Regions from separate parts of the Homo sapiens genome. Here regions 2, 3, 4, 5, 6 and 7 are each linked to region 1. The links are contacts of gene promoters, found by promoter capture Hi-C in human tissues and cell types (Jung and others, 2019). All regions are on one chromosome and are shown on one strand. Each heading gives the region's core, a stretch centred on a gene start or on the middle of the fragment in contact. The rest is flanking DNA. Distances are from core to core; before and after follow the strand shown.

Evidence for each region. The method cuts DNA at HindIII sites, captures the fragments that hold promoters and counts their contacts. A contact is called where the count stands out against the background at its distance.
Region 2: a contact is called between the fragment with the promoter of MPV17L2 here and the fragment with the promoter of DDA1 in region 1, in 1 of the 25 tissues and cell types used here (thymus).
Region 3: the fragment with the promoter of IL12RB1 here is called in contact with the fragment with the promoter of DDA1 in region 1 in 1 of the 25 tissues and cell types used here (dorsolateral prefrontal cortex).
Region 4: a contact is called between the fragment with the promoter of SLC35E1 here and the fragment with the promoter of DDA1 in region 1, in 1 of the 25 tissues and cell types used here (pancreas).
Region 5: a contact is called between the fragment with the promoter of MED26 here and the fragment with the promoter of DDA1 in region 1, in 1 of the 25 tissues and cell types used here (spleen).
Region 6: a contact is called between a fragment that was not itself captured here and the fragment with the promoter of DDA1 in region 1, in 2 of the 25 tissues and cell types used here (dorsolateral prefrontal cortex and thymus).
Region 7: a contact is called between a fragment that was not itself captured here and the fragment with the promoter of DDA1 in region 1, in 1 of the 25 tissues and cell types used here (aorta).

What each region holds. Positions count from the first base shown.
Region 1 is chr19:17,307,574-17,311,235 of GRCh38, reverse strand. DDA1 (DET1 and DDB1 associated 1) reads right to left here and starts at 1,673. Exons shown (of 5, transcript NM_024050.6): 1 at 1,579-1,673. The coding sequence starts at 1,581. RefSeq lists a silencer at 1,358-1,457 and enhancers at 1,245-1,808, 1,898-2,087, 1,809-2,370. The HindIII fragment of the contact is 11,596 bases long and covers 1-3,662 here.
Region 2 is chr19:18,191,593-18,195,254 of GRCh38, reverse strand. MPV17L2 (MPV17 mitochondrial inner membrane protein like 2) reads right to left here and starts at 2,037. Exons shown (of 5, transcript NM_032683.3): 1 at 1,787-2,037; 2 at 1,221-1,391; 3 at 402-478; 4 at 169-297. The coding sequence starts at 1,973. RefSeq lists an enhancer at 1,893-1,942 and a silencer at 2,333-2,512. The HindIII fragment of the contact is 8,354 bases long and covers 1-3,662 here.
Region 3 is chr19:18,085,180-18,088,841 of GRCh38, reverse strand. It overlaps IL12RB1 (interleukin 12 receptor subunit beta 1), which reads left to right and starts at 1,908. Exons shown (of 17, transcript NM_005535.3): 1 at 1,908-2,082. The coding sequence starts at 2,019. RefSeq lists enhancers at 1,577-1,636, 1,647-1,996. The HindIII fragment of the contact is 62,137 bases long and covers 1-3,662 here.
Region 4 is chr19:16,570,801-16,574,462 of GRCh38, reverse strand. It overlaps SLC35E1 (solute carrier family 35 member E1), which reads left to right and starts at 2,048. Exons shown (of 6, transcript NM_024881.5): 1 at 2,048-2,519; 2 at 2,881-2,951. The coding sequence starts at 2,099. LOC105372295 (a long non-coding RNA gene) reads right to left here and starts at 1,913. Exons shown (of 3, transcript XR_936360.3): 1 at 1,655-1,913. RefSeq lists enhancers at 1,742-1,831, 1,139-2,013 and silencers at 1,932-2,151, 2,282-2,391, 2,552-2,681. The HindIII fragment of the contact is 29,713 bases long and covers 649-3,662 here.
Region 5 is chr19:16,626,093-16,629,754 of GRCh38, reverse strand. It overlaps MED26 (mediator complex subunit 26), which reads left to right and starts at 1,551. Exons shown (of 3, transcript NM_004831.5): 1 at 1,551-1,883. The coding sequence starts at 1,812. LOC105372296 (a long non-coding RNA gene) reads right to left here and starts at 1,323. Exons shown (of 2, transcript XR_936361.3): 1 at 507-1,323; 2 at 1-396. RefSeq lists enhancers at 338-387, 492-1,423 and silencers at 938-1,017, 1,268-1,527, 1,628-1,687. The HindIII fragment of the contact is 10,464 bases long and covers 1-3,519 here.
Region 6 is chr19:17,953,238-17,956,899 of GRCh38, reverse strand. It overlaps a transcript of KCNN1 not described here. Among named protein-coding and RNA genes, the nearest start is that of KCNN1, 12 kb to the left of the region's middle. The HindIII fragment of the contact is 4,437 bases long and covers 1-3,662 here.
Region 7 is chr19:16,675,791-16,679,452 of GRCh38, reverse strand. The region is part of intron 1 of TMEM38A (transmembrane protein 38A); the gene reads right to left. Among named protein-coding and RNA genes, the nearest start is that of TMEM38A, 16 kb to the right of the region's middle. The HindIII fragment of the contact is 4,607 bases long and covers 1-3,662 here.

The DNA of each region.
Region 1 (3,662 bases), core at 424-2,923:
CGAGATCATGCCACTGCACTCCAGCCTGGGCGACAGAGCAAGACTCCATCTCAAAAGAAAAAAAAAAAACAACCTCCTTCTCAGGCCCCATGCAGTGCCTCACACCTGTAATACCAGCACTTTGGGAGGCTGAGGCAGGATCACTTGAGCCCAGGAGTTTGAGACCAGCCTGGGCAACATAGGGAATCCCCATCTCTCCAAAAAGTACAAAAATGAGCCTGGTGTGGGGATCTCTTGAGCCTCCAGTCTGGGCGCCAGAGTGAGACCCTGACTCCAAAAAAAAAGTTCCTTCTGGTTCAGGTGAATTATGAACTGCCAAAGGGGTGAGAGCAAGGCTAGGAGACCAGGGAAGAAGCTGGGACAGGTATGCAGGTGGGAAGTGGCAGTACCTGCAACAGGGCATGAAGCCATGGATGAATTCAGGTGTGTTCAGAAGGCAGAGACAATCTAATCCACTTATGATTGGCTGTAGGGATGAGACTGTACCAAGGTATCAAGGACAACTCCCAGGCTTGGGGACCCGCACACTAGGAACCCACCTTCCCATTTCCTTCCTGAAAGGGAGTCTTCCTTTCATCCCCACCACATCCCAAGGACTGTGGATTGTGGGCTGGGACTCTGGGTCAGGGGACAAAGGAGACTTGAGGTATCTTGACCAAGCTTCCCATCACCCTTCCCAGCCCTCAGGATGCCAACTAATGGGGGTTGTGGAGAGGCTTTAGTTCCACTCTGAGGGTGGGTCACCATCCCACTTTTCAGGTGGGGAGACTGAACCCCGAAGAACCACCAGACCCAAATTCCAGGATGACTGAGGAACCCTGAAGGAATTTCAACCTTCCAACAGCCAGGTGGGGACGATCCACACTTCATAATGAGGGGACAGCTAGAAGAGAACGTCACTGGCCTCGAGTCACCCAGCTCATCTGTTGAGCATTCACTATCCTGAGTCCTTTACGACGTCAGTTACCTAAATTGTCACCACCCTAAGAGGTTCAGACTACTGCTACCCTCATTTCACAGGGACAATCCATGCGGATCGGAGATAAAAGTTTTTCATTCTTAGAGGCGGGTAAGGGCCCAGAATGGTGGAGGTGGGGTCAGGGCCCGGGGAACCGGGACAATCGGCGATGTCGCACTTCCTTTGGCGACAAAGCCCTGCATATCGCGGTGCCAAGCCCCCTCCCCCGCCCCGGGGCCCAGGCCGGCCTCCCAAATTCTCCTGAACTGAAGAGATCCAGGTCCGGCGTGCTGAGAACGAGGCCAGACCAGGGGGTCTTACGGGACCCCATCCCCACCCCAGACGATTTCCGGGGGGAGCCGCAACCCGGAAATGAATGAGTTGTCAGGGCTTGGTATCCTGGATGGGGTCAGGGGTCGGAGAAGGAGTGGCAGTGGGATCAGCAGGAAGCTCTCGGTAGGGTCCGGGGGTCGAAGGTCACAGGTGAGTGGGAGGGGCGGGCCGGACCTGAGGGGACCGGGCAGAACGGAGAGGGGCCTAGGGGGATACTAGAGGTGGGTGGGACCACAGCGCCATTTTGTCTAGCAGAGGGGGAGTGGGGGCCTGGAGGCCATCCTCACCATCTTCTGTTTCCTCCGTCGCCGCCTCGGCCGCCGCCTCAGCCTCCACCGCCGCCACCAGAGCCGCCTTCTTAGCCGCCGCCTCACAGTAACTTCCAGCCACGGCACAGCCCACACTGATGGCGCCACCACCTCCCTGTCATTGGTGTGCAGTCTAGCCCCGCCCCCACATAGGAGCGCTTTGCACGCTTCCATTGGCCGCATCCAGCTAACTCATGCGCCCATTGGTTGCCACGCCTCCTCCCATTGTGGTCAAGTTCGGTTGAAGAAGCAAAGCACCTCCCGGTACTTGGAAGCAATGAAAGTGAGATCCGGAAGTGGGCGGAGGCCTCGGCCGCGAAGTCTCTTGGGAGCTGTAGTTTACAGCTCCGCGAGGCTCTCTAGAGCTTTTGTGTGTCTGTGTGTTTTTAAGATGCGAGGTTCGGCCGGGTGCGGTGGCTCACTCCTGTAATCTTAGCACTTTGGGAGGCCGAGGCGGGTAGATCGCCTGAGGTCAGCAGTTCGAGACCAGCCTGGCCAGCATGGTGAAACCCCATCTCTGCGCCTGTAATTCCAGCTAGTAGGGAGGCTGAGGCAGGAGAATCACTTGAACCCGGGAGGCGGAGGTTGCAGTGAGCCAAGATCGTGCCATTGCACTCCAGCCTGGGCAACAAGAGCGAAAATCAGTCTCAAAAAAAAAAAAAAAAAGCCAGCCGGGCGCAGTGGCTCACGCCTGTAATCCCAGCACTTTGGGAGGCCGACGCGGGTGGATCACGAGGTCAGGAGATCGAGACCGTCCTGGCTAACACGGTGAAACCACGTCTCTACTAAAAATACAAAAAATTAGCCGGGCGTGGTGGCGGACGCCTGTAGTCCCAGCTACTCCGGAGGCCGAAGCAGGACAACGGCGTGAACCGTGAGTGAGGCGGATCTTGCAGTGAGCTGAGATCGCGCCACTGCACTCCAGCCTGGCGGACAGAGGGAGACTCTGTCTCAAAAAAAAAAAGGCGGGGCACGGTGGCTCACGCCTGTAATCCCAGCAATCCCAGCACTTTGGGAAGCCGAGGCGGGCGGATCACGAGGTCAGGAGTTTGAGACCAGCCTGGCCAACATGGTGAAACCCCATCTCTACTAAAATACAAAAATTAGCCGGGCGTGGTGGCGGGCGCCTGTCATCCCAGCTACTCAAGAGGCTGAGGCAGGAGAATCGCTTAAAACCAGAAGGCGGAGGTGTCAGTCAGCCGAGATTAAGCCACTACAGTCCAGTCTGGGCAACAAGAGCTAAACTCCCTCTCAAAAGAAAAAAAAAAAAAAGACACAGGGGTCTTGCTATGTTTCCCAAGCTGGTCTCGAACTTCTGGCCTCAAGCAATCCTCCAGACTTGGCTTCCCAAAGTTCTGGGAGCCATCGTGCCGGCATCTTCTTGTGTTTATTACGTTTTTAAAGCAGCCCTAGAAGATAAGAACCATAACACTCCCTAGCTCCTCCTCGACACCGTCTTGCTCAACCACCTCCCGTAACTCCCTAGTATTCAATCCCACCTCCTTGGCCCCATTTATGGGCACCTGCGGTCTTCATTGCCCACCTGTGTCCTCACCTCTAACCAATTCCTTCTATGTCTGGGCTCTCCCAGACCTTGCCATTTCCTCCAAGACTTCCCTGACTGCATTCTTCAAAAAGGCAAGTCAGGTACCTTCCCTGAAGTCCTACAGCCCTCACAATCCCCCTCCCAGCCCTGACACCTCTGTGTCCAAACTGCCTTCCTGACTTCCAGGGCAAAGAATGGGCACCCAGCACACAGCAATTGCACAGTGAAGTTGCTAAGTGGAAGCTACTAAGTATTATTACTCCAACAGCAACAGAGCAGAGGAGAAACCAGCACTGCATTTTATAGGCGACAAATGCACCTCACAGTGTTAAATTCTTGCTCAAAATCAAACATCCCCAAGGGACAAGTGGAAGATTCAAACTCCTTATGGGCTGGAGTTCAAGACCAGCCTGGTCAACATGGTGAAACTCCCCTCTACTAAAAATACATAAATTAGCTGGGCGTGGTGGCATGCACCTGTAATCCCAGCTACTTGGGAGGCTGAGGCACCAGAATT
Region 2 (3,662 bases), core at 788-3,287, 880 kb before region 1:
TCTTAACTGCTAGTGAGGAGCTCTCCGCCAGCCCACTGTTGGGTGTGGGTTGTCAGGAGCACAGGAGACTCCCACCCTCCAGGGTGGCTGGCTACACTGCCACTTGGAGCTCACACGTGTAGCCCCCTGGGGAGTCCCCTGGGTGCCTGGTATGCCCTCCACACTCACCCGGTACTTCAAGTAGGACAGGTACGTGTCCCAGCCCAGCGTCAGGCCGTTGATGTAGGTGACTCGAAATTGGGGGGGCACGAAGAGGAAGTTCACGAACTGCGCAGCAGGCCACACGCACCAGTCTGCCTGCGGGGAGAGGCGGGGGATGAGGGGCGGGGCCAGAGCTGGGCGGGGGCGGAGCGGCCATCAGGGGGCGGGGCCGGACATGTGCAAGGGGCGGGTGCTCCCACCTTGTAGAATTCCCAGAACTTCTCCCGCAGCTCCTGGCAGCTCTCACCCACTGTCTGACCCTCCAGGCAGCCAAGGCCTGGGAAGCAAACCAAGAAATGAGAGTGTTAGAGGCCAGGAAGTACTGTTGAGACGACAAGATGGGCTGACGATGGAGGGGGCGGGGTTGGGCCCCTGAGAGCCCACGCCGCCCACCCCGGGCAGAGGGACAGGGACTTTCAGATGGGATGGACAGAGAATTAGGGTAGCTGGTGTAGAGACAAAACAGAGCAAGTCAGTCCCAGTGAGAGAAAGAGAGGTTATAAACATATAAACACGTGCCCCAATGGAGACACCCTGAAGTTGAGGGAGTTGTGTTACTTTTCCATCACAGACCAGGAAGCCGGGCTGGGAGGTGGAGAATGAGAGACTCCTCTATTAATACCGCTGTCTTTACCGAGCCTAGGGCTGGCACGGTTGCACCCCATTAAGTCTAGCCTCAATTTCTCTTCCTTCAGGCCTCAGAGCCTTTGCATTAGCTGTTCCCTCTGCCCGCTGGTTCCCTCTTCATGTCTCAACTGAGTGTGGTCCCCTTCTTTGGGAAATGCTCTCAACCTCCCGCCCAGGGCAGCCCCAACAGATACAGTCCTCGTCCCTCCTACACTCGCCAGCGTTCACATCGGCCGAGTCCGTCCTGTCCCCGCTGTGACCTGGCTCCTAGTCCAGGGCGACCCAAACAGGGGGCAAATTGGAAATGCACCTCTGCATCCTTCTTAACACAAAGCTGGCTCCACCCCTCCCGACCTATGAGAGGCAAAGCCTAGGCTTAGGAGGCTCCTTACCCAAGAAGTACCAGACGCCCAGCAATGGAGAGGCTACCAGCTGATCCACGAGGACCTTCTTGAGGACATTTGGGAAGCCTCGGAGGCCAGACGCAGGGAATAGGCGGTCCAGCGACAAGTACCAGTAGTGCAGGAAGGGACCCATGCTGCAGCCCACCGCAAACATGCTCGCTATAAGAGTGTAAGTCAGGGGGCTGGGTCGGGCCGGCAAGTTCCTCAGTCCATTCCCTCTCTCCCTCCCTGGCTAAGGCCTGGGTAAGCCCAATGCCATCCCGGAGCCTCAGCCTCACCGGGAAAACCGGAAGAGCCCACCCGTGCATTCTTCCACTACAAGCCCCACCAGGAGGCGCGGCTCCAGAGGCTCCTGGGTAGTGGGCAGAGACCTCCGGGGGTTGGGAGGTGATGGAGACCCAGAGCTGCGGGGAGACAGACACCCGGGGAGAGGCGCGGTCAGGGCAAGGGTCCTGCGGGGGACTGAGGCCACGGGTCAGGGGTCACGGCCCGCAGTCGGGTGTCGGGATCAAAGGTCGCCCGGGGTGAAGGACTAAGCAGCGTGGCGTCCTCACCGGAGCGCCGTGGGTCGAAAACCTGGCCGGGCCGGGCGCGGATCTCCCAGGACTGGCGCACGCCATCACCGGCCGCCATGAGCGCGCCGCAGCCCAGCGTGTTAGTGACGAGCAGCGCGCGGCCCTGGAATAGAAGCTGCCCCGCGGATAACAGGCGGCGTAGCCGGCGCCAGCCACCCCGCGCCATCGCCCTCAGGAACCAAGGAACCGGCGCGCCGCTCTGCTTTCGCCGCGCCGACCAGTCGCGAGTCACTGTCGATCCCAAATTGCCCGCCCCTCCGGCTCCCCGGCCAATCGCATAAGGATCTTCAGTCCGCAGGTCCGCCCCGAGCCGCGACGCGTTCACCAATCGCAGGCAGCCTCGGGGAGCCACATTGCCCGGCCCGAAGAGTATTGACCAATAAAAGGCAGGCGTTCTATCCCAAGGTCGAGCCCCCAACGACCTCCCGAGCTTCACGGACCAATCGGAAAAAAGAATTGCGTTACGTCCCGCATGCCGATTGGTAACGTTGCACTCTTGTTTCCCCGCCCCTTTCTGTGCCAGCCTATGGGAAACCGTCGCAGCCCCGTCCTACCGACACGCCCAGGACGGCACTGGCCAGTCGCAGACCGGCGTCACGCTGGCAAATCAGTGACCGTCGTCCCGCCTCCCGCGTTAGGGTTGGTCAATCTTAGGCAGTTACAACGCCTTCTGGCCTGGTTGCCCTACGTATTTCCAGATTCTCCTGGACTTAACCAGAAGGGATGTGATCTGTGGCCAGAAACAATTATATCCTAATTATACCGTTCCCGTAGGGAACAATTATTTTTTTTCTTTTTTTGAAATGGAGTCTCGCTCTGTCACCCAGGCTGGAGTGCGGTGGCGCGATCTCGGCTCACCGCAACCTCTCCCTCCCGGGTTCAAGCGATTCTCGTGTCGCAGCCTCCCAAACAGCTGGGATTACAGGCACGGGCCACCACGCCCAACTAATTTTGTATTTTTGGTCTAGACAGGGGTTTTGCCATGTTAGCCAGGCTGGTCTCGAACTCCTGACCTCAAGAGATCCACCCGCCTTGGCCTCCCAAGGTGCTGGGATGATGATAGGCGTGAACCACCGTAACTGGCTTAAAAAATGATTTTCAATGGAAATCCCTATGCATTCTCTACTAGAGTCGCAAACTACTGCCTGTGGGCTGTTAACTGTTGAAGGTGTGCAGGTTCTTGGCATCTTGAACAAAGAATTGGACAAAGTGCACAAACAAAGCAAGGAAAGAATGAAGCTTAACAAAAGCAGAGATTTATTGAAAACGAAAGTACACTCCGCAGGGTGGGAGCCAGTGGAGCATACGGACTCAAGAGACCTGTTTAAGAATTTTCTGGGGTTTAAATGCCCTCTAGAGGTTTTCACTGGTTACTTAATGTACGTCCTATGTAAATGAAGAGGATGAAGTAAAGTTACAAAGTCATTTACTGGATGTATGCCCTCTTTAAATGGAGAAGATATTTCCTGTCATAGCTGAATTGTTTCCATTTGATTTGGCCTTATGTTCCCTGCCTCCAGACCTATTCTCCTGCCTCAGGGCCAAATCCTGTCCCTGCCTGTTTTGTGCTGCTCATGATGAGCTAAAGGTGTTTCTTACATTTTTTAAATGGTCAGTCAAGAAGGTGGGGATTGGCCAGGCGCAGTGGCTCACGCCTGTAATCCCAAACAGTTTGGGAGGCGGAGGCAGCTGGATCACCTGAGGTCAGGAATTCAAAACCAGCCTGGCCAACATGGTAAAACCCCATCTCTATTAAAAATACAGAAATTAGCCAGGGGCGTGGTGGTGGGCGCCTGTAATCCCAGCCACTCGGGAGGCTGAGGCAGGGTAATCTCTTGAACCCGAGAGGTGGAGG
Region 3 (3,662 bases), core at 659-3,158, 780 kb before region 1:
GCCAGGCTGGTCTCAAACTCCTGACCTCAGGTGATCCGCCCACCTCGGCCTCCCAAAGTGTTGGAATTACAGATGTGAACCACTGCACCCAGCCCAGCATTATGTTTTTGAGGGTTCATCCACATGGTAGCTTGGATCAGAGCTTCTCCACTGACATTTAGAGGCTTTGCCGACAGTGGGGAGGGAGGGGCAGGAAACAAAATACTCAGAGGCTAAGAAATGGAACATGGGGGAAAGACTAAGTTGCATCTCTTAAATTTTTTTTTTTTTTTTTTTAAGAGACAGGATCTTGCTCTGTTACCCAGACTGGAGTGCAGTGGCACAATCACGATTCACTGCAGCCTCAACCTCCTGGGTTCAAGCCATTCTCCCACCTCAGCCTCCTGAGTAGCTGAGAATACAGATGTGTGCCACCACGACTGGCTAACTTTTAATTTATATATATATATATATTTTGAGATGGAGTGTCACTCTGTTGCCCAGGCTGGAGTGCAGTGGCGCGATCTCGGCTCACTGCAACCTCCACCTCCTGGGTTCAAGCGATTCTCCTGCCTCAGCCTCCTCAGTAGCTGGGATTACAGGTGCCTGCCACCACACCCGGTTAATTTTTGTATTTTCAGTAGAGACAGGGTTTCACCATTTTGGTCAGGCTGGTCTCAAACTCCTGACCTCGTGATCCACCTGCCTTGGCCTCCCAAAGTACTGGGATTACAGGCGTGAGCCACCGCGCCTGGCCTAATTCTTTATTTTTTATAGAGATGGGGTCTTGCTATGTTGTTTAGGTAGACCCAAACTCCTGGGGTCAAGTGATCCTCCCACCTCGACCTCTCAAAGTGCTGGGATTAGAGGGGTGAGCCCAGGTGCACAAGGCTGGAGCTTGGCATGTGGGGAGGTGGGCATTGTGGAGGGCCAGCATGCTGCAAGCTCTTTGTAACAATTTGTTGGAAGGATGAAATTAGGCCATCCAAGAACACTGCCCTCCTTCAGCTCTTGAGTCTCAGATTCAGAAGCTGGCGAGATGGCCCGGTGCGGTGGCTCACGCCTGTGATCCCAGAATTTTGGTAGGCCAAGGCGGACGGATCATTTGAACCCGGGAGTTTGAGACCAGCCTGGGCAACATGGCAAAACCCCCTCTCTTAAAAAAAAAAAAATGCAAAAATTAGCTGGGCGTGGTGGTGCATGCCTGTAGTCCCAGTTCCTGGGGAGGCTGAGGTAGGAGGATGGCCTGAGCCTGGGGAGGTTGATGTTGCAGTGAGCCGTGATTGCACCACTGCACTACAGCTGGGCCACAGATCAAGACCCTATCTCAAAAGAAGAAAAAAAGAATTTGGCAGCCAGGCACGGTAGCTCACGCCTGTCATCCCAGCACTTTGGGAGGCTGAGGTGGGTGGATCACTTAGGGTTAGGAGTTCGAGACCAGCCTGGCCAGCATGGTGAAACCCTGTCTCTACTAAAAATACAAAAATTAGCTCGATGTTGTGGCAGTTGCCTGTAATTCCAGCTACTCGGGAGGCTGAGGCAGGAGAATTGCTTGAACCCGGGAGGCAGAAGTTGCAGTGAGTGGAGATCATGCCACCACACTCCAGCCCGGGCGACAGAGCAGGGCTCCATCTCAAAAAAAAAAAAAAAAATTGGCTAGAGAGGGCCAGAGACCTGGCCAAGTGCATGGAACCACAGGTGGCCCATGGGCCCATGGGGCTGGCATCTGGGTGTTCAGTTCAGGTCTGGGGCCAGCAGGGCAGAACCCCCTAGAACCCTGACTTGCTCCAAAGTCAGACTTGCTCCAGAGTCTGTGGCCGCCACCATCACCACCACCACGGAGCTGACTTCCTGGGTTTCTCTTTCACTTTGACTTGCCTTAGGGATGGGCTGTGACACTTTACTTTTTTTCTTTTTTCTTTTTTTTCAGTCTTTTCTCCTTGCTCAGCTTCAATGTGTTCCGGAGTGGGGACGGGGTGGCTGAACCTCGCAGGTGGCAGAGAGGCTCCCCTGGGGCTGTGGGGCTCTACGTGGATCCGATGGAGCCGCTGGTGACCTGGGTGGTCCCCCTCCTCTTCCTCTTCCTGCTGTCCAGGCAGGGCGGTGAGTCCCCTGACCCTGGCATGGCGGCTCCTCTTGCTGGGTGGAGGCACGTGTATGTGTGGAGAGCTGTGGGCCTGCTGTGTGGGTTGGTTTCATCTCTCTGTGCCTCAGTCTTTCCTGCTGTCAAATGGGAGATGGGCAGTCATGGCTTCTGGGATCGAACTTAGACATCTTTCCTCTGGTCTAGATTTTCTCTTCTGTGAAATGCACTAAATTTTTTCCACCTCCCGGAGTTCAATGAGAAAAAAAACTAAGGAAGGAATAAAAAGCAAGTATGTATCTAATAGGTATACATAGTATAGTATCTTATGTATGTAGTTTACAATAGATAGACATACATAATATAATGTATACAGTCATTTCCATATTTACGGGGCAATGGTTCCAGGACCCTCTGCAGATACCAAAATCCAAAGATGCTCAAGTTCCTGATATAAAATGGTAAAGTATTTGCATATAACCTATGCACATCCTTCCGTATACTTTACTTATTTATTTATTTATTTATTTATTTATTTATTTATTTATTTATTTACTGAGGTAGGGTCTCACTCTGTGTCCCAGGCTGGAGTGCAGTGGCCTAATCATAACTCATTGCAGCCTTGACCACCTGGGCTCAAGTGATCCTCCTGCCTTAGCCCCTTGAGTAGCTGGGACTGCAGGTGCACACTACCATGCCTGGTTAATTTTTTTGGTGTATACTTTTTACAGAGACAGCGTCTCGCTGTGTTGCCCAGGCTGGTCTCGAACTCCTGGGCTCAAATGATCCACTCACCTTGGCCTCCCAAAGTGCTCAGATTACAGGCATGAGCCACCATGCCCAGCCTTCCCATATACTTTTAATAATCTCAGGCCCTGCACGGTGACTCACTCCTGAAAATCCAGCACTATGGGAGGCCAAGATGGGTGGATCACTTGAGGTCAGGAGTTCGAGACCAGCCTGGCTAACATGGTGAAACCCCATCTCTACTAAAAATGCAAAAATTAGCCAGGCTTGATGATGGGCACCTGTACTCCCAGCTACTTAGGAGCTGAGGTGGGAGGATCGCTTGAACCCAGGAGGCAGAGGTTGCAGTGAGCCGAGATTGCAGCACTGCATTCCAGCCTGTGTGGCAGAGCAAGACTCTATCTCAATAATAATAATAATAAATAAACTTTCCTTCTCTGTACACTGGGGATCAGCGGGGTGCTGACTTTTTCAATGGCTCTTGAGATGCACTGAGTGCCTGTAGAATGCCCACAGCAGTGCTGGCCACACCTCAAGGTCCCAGCGCCTTCAGGGGCCAGGCATGGCTGGAGACCAGCAGCAGGGAGGGGGCGAGAGGCAGCCCACGAGGTATCCTGGAGATAGTGGCAGTGAGTGGTCAGTCCAGGGAAAGGGAAGGAGGATGGGCTTTAGGCTCTCAGGGGTGGGTGGGTGGGTGGGGGTTCTGTGTCATCACAGAGAGAGATGGAAGGATGGAGAGCCTTGTGTGTTAAGCATCTTTCCCCCCTCAAGGTTGGACACTTGGGGCTGTTTCCTGGGGTGCCGCCTTCTCCCCCAAGGCTTCCAATCTGCCTGCAGGGCTCAGGACAGGTCC
Region 4 (3,662 bases), core at 799-3,298, 740 kb after region 1:
AAAGTGCTCATCTTTTAGTTCCCCCTCGTCCCTGAAACTGTAGGCTAAGACTTTGGTTTTCCAGTTTTTCACTTTGGAATAGGTCATCTTACCCATATCTGCTTAATTTCACAAATGAAGAAACAGCTACACCTTAAGACATGCAGTCTCACAGGGCAAACCAAAGGTTCCTTCCAGCCTGTAAGACTACAGTCAGTCCAGAGCCAGTTTGAGAGCTAGCAGGGATTCCTGGCAAAAGCTTGGTGCAGAACACACTCCCCTCCCCAACAAAAGGCCATGGGCAAAGTGGCTTTGAAGGCAGGATGAGGTTGAACCCAGGCCTACCACCCACCAGCTGTGTGGCTCTGAGCTCATCTCTTCACTCCTGTGCACATGTCCCCATTTGGGGGGTGAGAATACCCCAGAGTTGTGAGAACTAAAACACAAAGCATGTCAGTGTGTCAGTGGAAGTATCTGACACTCAGCTGTGCTGTAGGGTGCCTATAGTTATACTTTCCTAATTTCACTGTGCCTATGTTTAACAGCTCTGCTGAGACATGGTGTCCCAAGGATGTGACTTTACTCTGATCCACAGAGGGTACAGCTGGAGGATATTAGGGTGCAGAGCTTGGCCTCCTATCAGCATCTCTAGAGTTTTGGGATAGGTTGCAGCTCCCCACTACCCCTGCCTGCAGGGACTACCATGCCTGTGTCCATGTATCCAGAAGGGCCTAGGGCCTTTGAGAATGCAAGGATAAGCTAAGATACCTTCCAACATTTGGGGAGCCAAGTTGGGTTGCTGCTTTCTACTTTTCTTTGAGACTGGGTCTCGCTCTGTCACCCAGGCTGCAGTGCAGTGGCGCCATCATAGCTCACTGGAACCTTGACCTGGGCTCAAGCCGATCCACCCACCTCAGTCTCCCTAGTAGTGGGTACCACAGGCGTGCGCCACCACGCCTGGCTAATTTTTGTATTTTTTGCAAAGATGAGGTTCTGCCATGTTATCGATGCCACGATCTCCAACTCCTGAGCTCAAGCAATCCGCCCACCTTGGCCTCCCAAAGTGCTGGGATTCCAAGCTTGACTCACTGCACCCAGCCGGTTGCTGCTTCTAATTTGACAAGTAAAAACACTGTAACGGAATTTTAACACCCTTTCCCCGAAAAAGTTGGAGGCACACGATGTGGAGAACAAATTATAGCCCTTGAATTAGTATAAGATCATCTTACTGAAAACCTCGTCCTGTTTTCCTCCACTGGGGCCTCCTGGGGCTGGTCCATCCCGGCTGGTCCTTGGACATCAGCCGTCAGGGCCCGGCACCTCCCCCTTCTGCAGAGCCTTGGAGACAGGTGTCCAAGGACGCTACCATGACCACGGTCCCCAGTGTGGCCAGGAAGCCTAAGACAAGTCGCTTCCCCATTCTGGACTTCGGTCTGTGAAATGCGGACAGTGATACCTACCGCACCGCGTTCCTAGGATTCAGTGGGATGATACCAGGGCCACGCCCGAGAACTGCGCACGTCGCGGTGGTTTCCAGAACATGATTCCAGGGATCGGGTGCTCCGGGATAGTCCCACTGCCAGAGTTTGGCCACGAGCGTGCGCCCCCAGTTTGCAGAGCGAGTTTAGCCCAAGAGCTTTTCACAAATGGTTTCTTTCCCTAAAAGGCCTTTTACCTTTGGTGTCAGCCGCCGCCAGCCATCAGGAATCAGGAATCTAGTTAGCGGTTGCCCTTGTATCCCTGGTCGAGGCCCTGATGTTTGGCCCACGCACAGACGCCGACGCTGCGAAGCCCTCCGCGCTTCTGTTCGCCCGTCCCGTTCGAGCTCCGGCTCCCGGTCACTGGGACCGCCCACGTCTCAGGTGGCACAGCTTGGACGCAGGTCTGTGTCCCCTTCTTCCGCTTCCGGCCTCGGCTCCGCCGGAAGCGCATCTACAGTGGACTGGGCCTGCACTCGAGACGTGGTGGCTGGCGCGTCGGCCGGCGCGGAGGGATGACGCGAGGAGGCAGCGACCAATGGGAAACGGCGTAGACCGGGGCGCCTGCCCCCCCGCCCAGCCCCGCCCCCGCCCGGCGTCGGGCCGTCGGACGGGCTGGAAGGGGCGGCCGCTCGGGCAGGATGGCGGCGGCCGCGGTGGGCGCGGGCCACGGCGCGGGGGGCCCGGGCGCAGCGAGCAGCAGTGGTGGGGCGCGCGAGGGCGCGCGGGTGGCGGCGCTGTGCCTGCTGTGGTACGCGCTGAGCGCGGGCGGCAACGTGGTCAACAAGGTGATCCTGAGCGCCTTCCCGTTCCCGGTGACCGTGTCGCTGTGCCACATCCTGGCTCTGTGCGCTGGGCTCCCGCCGCTGCTGCGCGCCTGGCGCGTGCCCCCCGCGCCGCCCGTCTCGGGCCCCGGACCCAGTCCGCATCCGTCGTCCGGCCCGCTGCTGCCGCCGCGCTTCTACCCGCGCTACGTGCTACCGCTCGCCTTCGGCAAGTACTTCGCGTCCGTGTCAGCGCACGTCAGCATCTGGAAGGTGCCCGTGTCCTATGCACACACCGGTAGGTTCCGCGCCCGGCCTCGGGGGCGGCGGCCGGGCCCGCCGCTTCGGGTTTGGGCGCATGGATAGGAGTGCGCCGCCCGGGGCGCGTCCCGCCGGACTGAGAAGTCAGCAGAGGGGCTGCCAAGGGTTTGGTAGGGGAGGGACACGCACGGGGTTCTCAGGGAGAAGAGGAGCTGAGAAGAGAGCTGAGAGGTAAGCAGGACAGACCACAACAGCCGTGGCAGGAGGAAGCCCTACCGAAAGAGAAGGGGCGAAGAGGTGTGAGGGGCTGCCAGGCCCTCCCATCCCGCCGTGGAGGTGGAACAGGTTGGGCCCTGAAATTCAGGCAGCCCCCTGAGTGCCCATCCCTCTCTTTGCAGTCAAGGCCACCATGCCCATCTGGGTGGTCCTCCTGTCCCGGATCATTATGAAGGAGAAGCAGAGCACCAAGGTAACCCCGGGCAGGGACTCTGGGCAGATGGGAGCTCCAGGGGGTTCCTCCCTGTTGCCAACTGGTGACGTGGTCAGGATCCTGGTCTGCAGGCTGCCTGGCTTCCCGTCAAATAGGGAAGTCAGTGTAGAGGTCTCCAGTGGCCTTTTACTACTCAAGTTCTAGAATCACCCTGTGAGCAGTGGTGTGTGGAGTATGTGTCCCTCTGTGATCTCTGCTGTGTGGTCTTAGGAACACTGTTGTCCCTTTCAGATCCAATTTTCCTCCCCGTTTTGATTCCCTACCTGGGTTTGCTGGTAGGTGATGGGTTGGTCACATCTTGGCCATACACCCCATGTGTGGCCTTTCCAGTGGGACTAGGGATGGATGGATCAGAACGCTGTCGGTTAGGTGTTCACTTTTTTTTTTTTTTTTTTGAGACGGAGTTTTACTCTTGCCCAGCCTGAAGTCCAGTGACACAATCTCAGCTCACTGCAACCTCCGCCTCCCAGGTTCAAGCAGTTCTCCTGCCTCAGCCTCTCAAGTAGTTGGGACTACAGACGTGCACTACCACACCTGGCTAATTTTTTTGTATTTTTAATAGAGACAGGGTTTCACCATGTTGCCAGGCTGGTCTCAAACTCCTGACCTCAAGTGATCCGTCCGCCTCAGCCTCCCAAAGTGCTGGTATTACAGGCGTCAGCCACTGCACTTGGCTAGGTTTTCACTTCT
Region 5 (3,662 bases), core at 302-2,801, 680 kb after region 1:
TTAGAAATTAAGAGAGAGGCAAGACCAGAATATGCCTGAGGAAGGCTTTGCTTATTTTGCTTATCAGAAATGAGAGAATTATCTCCGAATGGGCCAGTTTCCAACTTGGACCATGTACACCATGTACACAATGCACCGCATTCTGGGAGGGGCGAGGTTGGGAGCAGTAAATGACAAGTGTTTTGCCCGTGTTTCTTTTCTCCTCCAAGTGTGATGTAAAACTTTTCACATGTGCAGAAGCACGCAACCATAGCCACGTGCAGAAGCAGCCGTTTTTGCAAATGAAAATATTTCCCAGAAGCACAACAAATACAAGACTAACAGGTGTCGGGCAGCTCCAAGGCACACATGTGGTTCTCATCAGCTGTCTTCCTCCTGTTTTAAATCTAGGTCTTCCTGTAACAGTGGGAAAAAAAAGATTTCTCCCGAGGCCGCCGAGCTTGCCTTTCCATCCCGTCTCACAAGAGCATTTCCAACAGAGCTCCCAGAGAGAGGGGAGCAATTACCAAGGCAATAAACAGGGTGGAGGGAGGAGGGGCGCCCTTAAACTTGACATCTGCGGTTCTGGGCTTAACCCCGAAGTCTAGGTGACCTTGGGCCTCCGTTTCCTCCTCTGTGACGTGTTTGGTTAAGAGAATGAGCATCTCAGTTTTACAGAATCTCAAGGCAGAGGCGGGTAGAAGGGTCTTTCAATCACGGGGTTCTCTGCCGGTGGGGGGGCGGGGGGACTGTGCCCCCACAAGGGACGGCGGCAATGACTGCAGATTGGGGGAGGGGGCGCTTCGGAGGCCAGAGATGCCGCTCAACTTCCGACAGATCGGGGGACCCGCCCCGAAGACAGAGCGATCCCGCCCAAATGCCAGTGGTGCCGAGGTGGAGAAGCCGCCGCGTAGACGCAGATTTGCAACCTCCGGCTTTCCCAGCTACGGCGGGCGGCTTCTGCCAGAGGCGCTTTGCCGCCTCACGTTTTCGCGATCGGGGTCGCGCGTGGCGGTGCAGACCCCCGCCCTGCCACCACACCCATTCCCACACCCTCTGAGGGGCGGGGGGGCCGCGGCGACACCCCCGGACTCCGATGACCCTTCTGCGCGCAGAATCACAACGTGGACGTCTGGTTCCCTCGCCCTCACAAAAAACTCGGCAGCTGCTCAGCCTGCGACTCCCGTCCCCCAGTCACGCGCCGGGAAGGCTCTCCCAGAGGAAGGATTTTCCCGCCGCCCTCCCCGCCCCGAGGTAGCCGCTGCGAGCGTCCGGGTTCAAGGACTCTTTGCGCGCGCGCTTCCGTCAGAAAGCCCCGCCCCGTGACCTGGACGGGGGCCGTTGCCCCGCCCAACCTCCTCCCAACGGCTGCCTAGGCCGGGCGGCTGGGCGGGGCGTCACGGGCGGACGAGTGCGCCTGCGCGCGCTTGCGCGGAGGCGCGGGGCGTGGCACACGGGCAGCCCCGCCCAGGCCTGGCGTCTCCGCCCGCCCCATCTCCCAACCTCCTCAGCGTGGCGCCGACGCTGCGTGCGGCGCGGACTACCCAGAGTACTCCGCGCGGGGGCAGCTCACTGGAGTTTGGTTCTCGAGGCGGCGGCAGCGAGCGGCGGCGGCTCCGGCGGCTCCTCCTCCTCCTTTGGTGGCGGCGGCGGCCCGGGACCGAGACCCGGCCCCGGCTCCCCTCTCCGCCACCCCGCGCGCCCCCAACCCCCCGGCGCCGCGGGGAACATGCGGCTCCGGCTCCCGGAGGCCGGCGAGTGAGTGACCCCCGTCCCCCGCCTCAGCCCGCCCGCCCGCTGGCCCGGCCGCAACCCCCCGCCTCGCCCAGGCAATGACAGCGGCTCCGGCGTCTCCGCAGCAGATCAGGGACCGGCTGCTGCAGGCCATCGACCCCCAGAGCAACGTAAGTACCCGCCGCGCGAGCTGGGACGGAGGCCGCATGGGCCCGGGACCCTCCCCCTCTCCTGTACCCCTCGCCCACCGGGCTTCGGGGGACCCGTCTGGCGCCCACCTCCCCTCGAGGGCCGCTGCCATCCCTGCCTCTCGCTTCTCGGGCCCGGGCCGGGGGCAGGTCGGGCAGCCCGGCAGCGCTCGGTACGTGAGGCCGAGGCTTCCGTGCGGCCTGGGCGGAGGAAGCAGACGGGGGAGCTGAGGCTAGAGTTTTTCCTCCCTTTCTGCTCCAGCTCTACGACCCTCACTGCTCTGGACGAAGCTTCTCTGCCTCGCCCTCCCTCCGGGACCCGAGACCCCCGGGAAGCCCTCCCGGAGCGGGAAGGGGAGGGAGAAGGGCTGTGAAGCAACTGGTGTCCGGGGTATGACTCGGGGAACCTATGTCTCCCATGTCTTGGCCTCCTGGGTGATCAGGGAAGTCCTTCTTCCCCCTCCTCTCGGCTGGCAGCACCTTCCTGGCTTCGGAGAGAACCCCCAGTCTGTTTTGCCCCTGGCCGGGTACCTAGGGTACGTGGAGAGTCTGTCTCCCTTCTGTGACTAGACACGCCTTTGCCAAAACCCTCTTGGGGTCGCTGCCGACGATAGATGATCTCGGGGAGGGTGGGATCCTTCCTGTTGCCTTTCTGGGCCTCAGTACCCATTGCGTCTCTGACCAAGCCAGAGCTCCATTTTTTAGGTAGTGAATTAAAGAGGACTTTTCTCTCCCGTTTACCCAAGAGCTCTGTTTCAGTAGGCTCTTTCCCTCACCTGGGGGTCTCAGCCTGGTGGTTTTTGACCCAGACTGTCGGGGTTAACTCCAGAGTGTCGCTTCCTCGGGTGCCCCTTTGCTGAGGCTACTGTTTGCGGAGGGACCGCCCCCTCCCCTTCCGTGTGTGTGTGTGTGTTGTTGCGGGGGTGGGGGGGTGGGGGGGAAGACTGATCTATTCTCATATTTTCTCCAAGAGTTTCTTGGCAGTAGGGGTCATTCTTCCCGCGGCAGGAGCAGGGCGGTAGGAAGATGCAGTAGCATCCAGGTATGAGGGGAGGCCCTGCTTCCCAGGAAGTGGCCATTGAGATCACTTTTTAATGTGCTGTGAATGGAAGAAAAATATCATCTTTGGCTTGGCCAGGTAACTCAGGTTTCTCTCACCGTAGGGGTTTTTGCTTTCATTTTTACATGAGCTTGGCTGATTACTCTTAGCAATATGCTTCACTCTGATGATGTTTTGGGAATAATTCACATTGGCTTATACAATTTTTGGTTAAGACTGAAGGGTTATGAGTTTTTTCGAAGGCTCTGGTTGCTGTGATATAAGTACTTCTCTTATCCCTGGTATTCAGGTCCCATTAACATTGACTTGATGGTAATTGTCTTTAACAAATGTTATATTGTACATTTTTGTTATGACTTTGGGGGTGGAGTGGGCACAAGCTATATAAAACCTTCTAGAATGTCCTTTTTGCAGTAACTGGTGTCACTGCAATTTTAAGACTGAAATATTAGAGGATAAAACTAGTGACATGAAAAAAATAGCCTTGGTGACTTGTGCATCTTTTGTGGAGCCGGAAGGTAATTTTTTTAATTTCACGCACTCGCTTTCCTTCTGGAGAGTCTGAGAGGTTGCTGAGATATTAGCACTGATCCTTAATGCCACCTCAGAGAGCTTTGGGATCAGGCGGCACTTTGACAGGCGATCACAGTGTTGTAGATTAGGTCACTCCAGTGACCTCACAGTTTCCAGTATTGTATAGG
Region 6 (3,662 bases), core at 593-3,092, 650 kb before region 1:
TAATTTTTTGTATTTAGTAGAGACGGGGTTTCACCATGCAGGATGGTCTCTATCCCCAGACCTCATTATCCGCCCACCTCGGCCTCCCAAAGTGCTGGGATTACAGGCATGAGCCACCACACCTGGCCCCCTTTCTCTCTTTCTCGCTTTCTTTCTGAGACAGAGTCTCACTGTCACCCAGACTACAGTACAGTGGTTCAATCATAGCCCACTGTATCCTCGACCTCTTGGGCTCAAGTGATCCCCCCATCTCAGCCTCCAGAGTAGCTGGGACCACACACATGCACCACCCCACTGGTTAATTTAAAAAAAAAAAAATTGTAGAGATGGGTTCTTGCTACATTGCCCAGGCTGGTCTCAAGCTCCTGAGCTCAAGTGATCCTCCTGTCTTGGCCTCCCAAAGTTCTGGGATCACAGGCATCAGCCACTGTATCCAGCACAAAACACTTAAGCTTAATTGATGCCCCATGAAATTCCACAAGGGCTGACCTGGGCTGGCCTTTGTCCTTATTGCATCCCAGCATCCAGCCTAGGGCCTGGCAGACAGTAGCTAGCTTGCTCAGTGTTTGTTGATTGACTAAATGACCACCACCTCTGTTTTCTCCACACCCCCATGGGCAGCTTAGTGCTGACCCTGGATGTCAGTCAGTGTTCACCAAGGAGGCCTGGCTCAGTGGCTCACGCCTGCAATCCCAGCACTTTGGGAGGCCAAGACAGGTGGATCACCTGAGGTCAGGAGTTCGAGACCAGCCCGGCCAACATGGGGAAACCCCATCTCTACTGAAAACACAAAAATTAGCTGTGCGTGGTGACGCATGCCTGTAATCCCAGCTACTTGGGAGGCTGAAGCAGGAGAATCGCTTGAACCCGGTGGGGTGGAGGGTGGAGGTTGCAGTGAGCCAAGATCATGCCACTGCGCTCCAGCCTGGGCGACAGAGTCAGACTCTGTCTCAAAACAAACAAACAAAACAAAACAAAACAAAACTAAAAAAAAAAAGTTCACTGGAGAAAGGAGCACAGGAGCTGCCTTCCACAGAGCTGGCCTACCCTGGGGGCTGTCTCCAGCGAGACCACGAGAGCCGGGAAGTAGAGGCTGTGTGTGGGGGGCGGGGGCGGGAGTGGTGGGACAGAGCTCTTCCAACCTGGCTCAACACCCCACTTCTAGGTCATCTGGCCTCTCTGAATAGTTTCCCCAACTCCAGTGATCAAAGAAAGTGGACAGTAACTCCCCGGAGGCTCTAGAAAGCATAGTCCTTGCTATCATCATCATGATATATATGATATAATAATAATTATATTATTATTTTTTTTCTTTCTTTCTTTTTTTTTTTTTTTTTGGAGATGGAGTTTCACTCTTGTTGCCCAGGCTGGAGTGCAATGGCACAATCTCGGCTCACTGCAACTTCCGCCTCCTGGGTTCAAGTGATTCTCCTGCCTTAGCCTCCCAAGTAGCTGGGATTACAGGCATGCAGCACCATGCCTGGCTAATTTTGTATTTTTAGTAGAGATGGGGGTTTCACCCTGTTGGCCAGGCTGGTCTCGAACTCCTGACCTCAGGTGATCTGCCTGCCTTGGCCTCCCAAAGTGCTGGGATTACAAGCGTAAGCCACCACGTCTGGCCTTTTTTCTTTTTTTTTTTTTTAATTAAAGAGATGGGGGTCTCGCTCTGTCGCCTAGGCTGGAGTGCAGTGGCCATTCACAAGCGTGATCATAGCTCACTGCAGCCTCGAACTCCTGGACTCGATACTCCCACCTTAGCCTTCCGAGTAGCTAGGACCACAGGTGCACGCCACTGTACCCAGCTTGTTATTATTTCAAAAGCTGGCACTTTTTCCTCAGGTCACCTTTTTTTTTTTTTTTTTGAAACAGAGCTTTGCTCTGTCGCCCAGGCTGGAGTGCAGTGGCGCGATCTTGGCTCACTGCAACCTCTGCCTCCCGGATTCAAGTGGTCCTCCTGCCTCAGCCTCCCAAGTAGCTAGGATTGCAGGTGCCCACCACCATCCCCGGGCAATTTTTGTATTTTTAGTAGACACGGGGTTTCGCCATGTCGGCCAAACTGGCCTCAAACTCCTGACCTCAAGTGATCCACCTGCCTCAGCCTCCCAAAGTGCTGGGATTACAGGCGTGAGCCACCTAGCCTGCCCAGTTACCAATTTTTCTATCCAACCCCTGAGCCACCCCCACCCCCAAAGGCGACCCAAGTCTGGGATTCACTCACCCTAGGGTGCAGGGGTCTCCTCGCCGAGCCACTGCAAAGGGGCTGTCCCCTTCAGTCCTGCTGGTGACCACTTGACTGGGAGAGAGGGTGGCTGCTGCTGCCTTTCCTGTCCCTTTGAGATCTGTAATGATCAGACAGGGGGTGCGGGGTGGAGGCGGGGACCCAAAAGAGTAGGGTGCAGACAGCTCCCGGACTACAGTGGTCTTTCTTATTTTTTATTTTTTTGAGACAGAGTCTTGCTCTGTCACCCAGGCTGGAGTGTAGTGATGTGATCTCAGCTCACTGCAACTGCCGCCTCCAGGGTTCAAACAATTCTCCTGCCTCAGCCTCCCAAGCATCTGGGATTACAGGTGCCTGCCACCATGCCCGGCTACTTTTTGTATTTTTAGTAGAGATGGGGTTTTGCTGTGTTGGCCAGGCTGGACTTGAACTCCTGGCCAGAGGTGATTCACCTGCTTCAGCCTATTACGTACAATGGTCTTTACAGCAGATCTGCGCTCTGGCTTGGTGTTGCTGAGCTGGGTCATCTCCTAAGCTTTCAGGAAGCTTAAGAACAGTGGCTTTATCACTCCAATGGGGCCCTGGGCTAGCCCCACCTCTTCCATGTCCCCTCCCTAAGGCCACTCCTCCTTTCACTGGGCTCCAGAAGCTAGACACTGAATGCTTTATCTGTCTTTCCCAATGCTGTTCCTGCTCACCCCCTCACATTGCCCCTAGTTCCTTCGCCATGGGGAGATCTAGGTGGGTGACATTCAGGGAGGTGACATTTTGTCACCCAGGCTGGAGTGCAGTCGCATGAACATGGCTCACTGCAGCCTTGACTTCCCGGGCTCAAGCGATCCTCCCACCTTCGGCCCCCAAGTAGCTTGGACTACAAGTGTGCACCACTACACCTGGCTAATTTTTTTAATTTTTTGTAGAGACAGGGTTTCAGTACGTTGCCCAGGCTGGTCTCGAACTCCTGAGCTTGCCTCGCCCTTCCAAAGTGTTGGGATTACAGTTGTGAACCACCTCGCTTGGCAGAGCAGCTGAACTCTTGCTCCCCAGCTCTGAAGCTGCCCTGGGAGCCTGTAGCTCCCTTGGCGTGCTCCCTCCATCTATTTAGTGCTGTCTGCAGAGGGCTTATAGAAGCACATGGTACCCAAGTCCGATCCTGGAGAAGAGGGCAGAAAAGGACACCCCATGGAGGGCAGGGGCAATGCCAGACCCCAGAACAGGACTGAAGGGGAAACCCCCAGCTGCCCTTTCTCTCACCAGGACCTGGGATCGGGGCAATGGTCACCTTGGATGGCTCAGGGGCCACCTGTTCCAGCCAGGGGGACTTGGTGCTGACCCTAGCCTTGGGAGGGCAGGGCCTTGTCCAAGGTCACTCAGCGGGTTGCTGCGTCGGAGTAAAAATTATCTCCTCCGTGGCTCCAGAAGCTTTGACTTCCCCATCTATAAG
Region 7 (3,662 bases), core at 569-3,068, 630 kb after region 1:
ACGGTAGTGCATGCCTGTAATCCCAGCTACTCAGGAGGCTGACAGGAGAATCACTTGAACTCAGGAGGTGGAGGCTGCAGTGAGCTGAGATTGCACCACTGCACTGCACTCCAGCCTGGGCAACAGAGCAAGACTCCATCTAAAACACACACATACACACACACACACACACACACACACACACACACACACACACACACGAAACAAAAGAAATTGCTATTCTGACCTCAGCTGATCCCAAGATCCCTATGAGCTTATGCTGGTATTCTTTTTTTTTTTTTTTTTTAACTTTTTTTGTTTGTTTCAAACAGAGTGTCACTCTGTCACCCAGGCTGGAGTGCAATGGTGCAATCTCAGCTCATTGCAAATTCTGCCTCCCAGGTTCAAGCGATCCTCCTGCCTCAGACTCCCGAGTAGCTGGGATCACAGGCAGCCACCACCATGCCTGGCTAATTTTTGTATTTTCAGTAGAGAAGGGGTTTCACCATGTTGGCCAAGCTGGTCTCCAACTCTTGGACTCAAGTGAACCTCCCACCTCAGCCTCCCAAAGTGCTGGGATTACAGGCATGAGTCACCGTGCCCAGCCTTATGCTGGTATTCTTACACCTGCTGTCTTAAAAAGAATTTTTTTTTGTAAAATATACATTAAATTTATCACTTTACTTTTTTTTTTTTTTTTTTTTTTTGGACACAGGGTTTCACTCCCATCACCCAGCCTGGAGCGCAGTGGTGCAATCACGACTCACTGCAGCCTTGACTTCCTGGGCTCAAACACTCCTCCCACCTCAGCCTCGAAAGTATTTGGGACTACAGGCACGCGCGCCACCATGCCAGGCTAATTTTTTGTATATTTAAAGTAGGCACGGGGTTTCGCCATGTTGCCCAGGCTGGTCTCAAACTCCTGGGCTCAAGCCATCCACCTGGCTCAGCTTCCCAAAGAGTTGGGATTATAGACGTGAGACACCATGCCCAGCCCATTTTAAACATTTTTAAGTGTATAGCTCTTTTTTTTTTTTTTTTTTTTTGAGACAGAGTCTCACTCTGTCACCAGGCTGGAGCGCGGTGGCGCGATCTCGGCTCACTGCAACCTCCTCCTCCCGGGTTCAAGTGATTCTCCTGCCTCAGCCACCCGAGTAGCTGGGATTACAGGCATGCGCCACCACGCCCAACTAATTTTTGTATTTTTAGTGGAGATGGGGGTTCACCATGTTGGCCAGGATAGTCTCAATCTCTTGACCTTGTGATCTGCCCACCTTGGCCTCCCAAAGTGCTGGGATTACAGGCATGAGCCACTGCCAAGTGGCTGGCCAAGTGTGTGGTTCTATGGCATTATATTCACATTGTTTTGCCATAATCACCACCAACCATCTCCAAAACTCTTTCATCTTCCCAAACTGAAACCTATTAAACACTCACTCCTCATCCCCCATCGCCTAGCCCCTGGCACCATTCTACTTTCTGTCTCTATGAAATTGATGACTTTAGGAATCTCATGTAAGCGAAACCATACAAACTTTGTTGTTTTGTGTGGCTTATTGAGCATAATGTCCTCAAGCTTCATCCCCATTGTAGCATGTATTAAGCTTTTATTTCCGGGCTGGGCACGGTGGCTCACACTTGTAATCCCAACACTCTGGGAGGCTGAGCCACGTAGATCACTTGAGCCTGGGTGTTCGAGACCAACATGGGCAACATAGTGAGACCCCACCTCTGCAAAAAATTTTAAAAATTAGCTGGGCGTGGTGGCATGCTTCTGTAGTCCCAGCTACTCGGGAAGCTGAGGTAGGAAGATCACTTGAGCTGGTGAGGTGGAGGCTGCAGTGAGTCATGAGCATGCCACTGCACTCCAGAGCAAGACCCTGTTGAGAGGGGAGGGGAAGGGAGGGAAGGGGAGGGGAGGCCAGCCTGGGCAACACAGTGAGACCCCATCTCTACAAAAAATTTTTTCTAATTAGCTGGGCATGGTGGCATGCACCTGTAGTCCCAGCTACTCAAGAGGTTGAGTTGGGAGGATCACTTGAACCCAAGAGTTTGAGGCTGCAGTAAGCCATGAGTGCACCACTGCACTCCAGCCTGGGTGACAGAATGAGACTCTGTCTCAAAAATAATAAATATATAAAGTCTGTAGTTGAGTTAATGATAGTGTACCCATGCCAATTTCCTGGTTTTAATAATGCACTATCATTACATAAGATGTCATTGGAGGAAGCTGGGTAAAGGGTATTTGCAAATTCTCTGTACCATTTTTGCAACTTCTTGTGAGTCATAAACTCTTCCAAGATAAGAAGTATTTTAAAATTCCATATTAAAAAGAAGGGGGCTTGAAAACCCCATTGCTGAGTCCTTAGGTCCTATAGCTGGGCTTTTTTTTTTTTTTTCTTTTTAAAAAAAGGGCTGGGCACGGTGGCTCATGCCTGTAATCCCAGCACTTTGGGAGGGCGAGGTGGGTGGATCACCTGAGGTCAGGAGTTCAAGACCAGCCTGGCCAACATGGTGAAACCTCATCTCTACTAAAAATACAAAAATTAGCCAGGCGTGGTGGTGGGCGCCTTTAATCTCAGCTACTCGGGAGGCTGAGTCAAGAGAATTGCTGGAACCTAGGAGGCAGAGGTTGCAGTGAGCTGAGATCGTGCCATTGCCCTCCAGCCCAGGCCAACAACAGCGAGACTACCTCTCAAAAAAAAAAAAAAAAAAAAAGGTCATGAAAATGCAACACTCGGGGTACAGTATTAATGTCTATTCACTAAATCCTTGCATCTTGTATTACTCATGTAAAGCCTTTATAATCTTTATAAATAGTTCTATCCTTATGTTGTATCTTCGTAATCTTCTAAGGCCACACCTTGGAGTTAGAACTTGTGTCTCCTGGTATGACCACTTCTTTCATCATATTGATTCTGTCTTTCCCAACTAGTTTCGTTTTGCAGAGAACAACTTTATGATCAAGTTGTAAGGTACAGCTACTCTGTACATTACATGACCAGAGCCAAAACCAACGATTCCCCTAATACAACTTATTCTAATGAAATGAAAACTACAGTCAGTATTGACATGAGATAACAAGGTCACAAAATGTAATCTCTCTCTTTTTTTGTTTGAGATGGAGTCTCGCTCTGTCCCGCAGGCTGGAGTGCAGTGGCGCAATCTCAGATCACTGCAAGCTCCGCCTCACAGGTTCATGCCATTCTCCTGCCTCAGCCTCCCTAGTAGCTGGGACTACAGGCACCCGCCAGCACGCCCAATTTTTTGTAATTTTAGTAGAGACGGGGTTTCACTGTGTTAGCCAAGATGGTCTCAATCTCCTGACCTCGTGATCCGCCTGCCTCGGCCTCACAAAGTGCTGGGATTACAGGTGTGAGCCACCGCGCCCGGCCAAAATGTGATCTCTTATTAGTCAAATCAAAAGACTAAGCAAAAGAAATAATCAGTTTTGTCTATTTTTAGCAGGGAAGAGAAAGAGTGTCTGTTGTGGACAGAATGTTTCTGTCTCTCCAAAATTCGTATGTTGAAATCCTACCCCTCCCCGCTTGTGATAGCATTAGGAGGTCGGGCCTTTGGGAGGTGATTATGTCACCAGGGTAGACCCCTCACGAACGGGGTTAGAGCCTTTATAAATGGTGGCTCACGCCTGTCATCCCAGCACTTTGGGAGGCTGAGGCGGG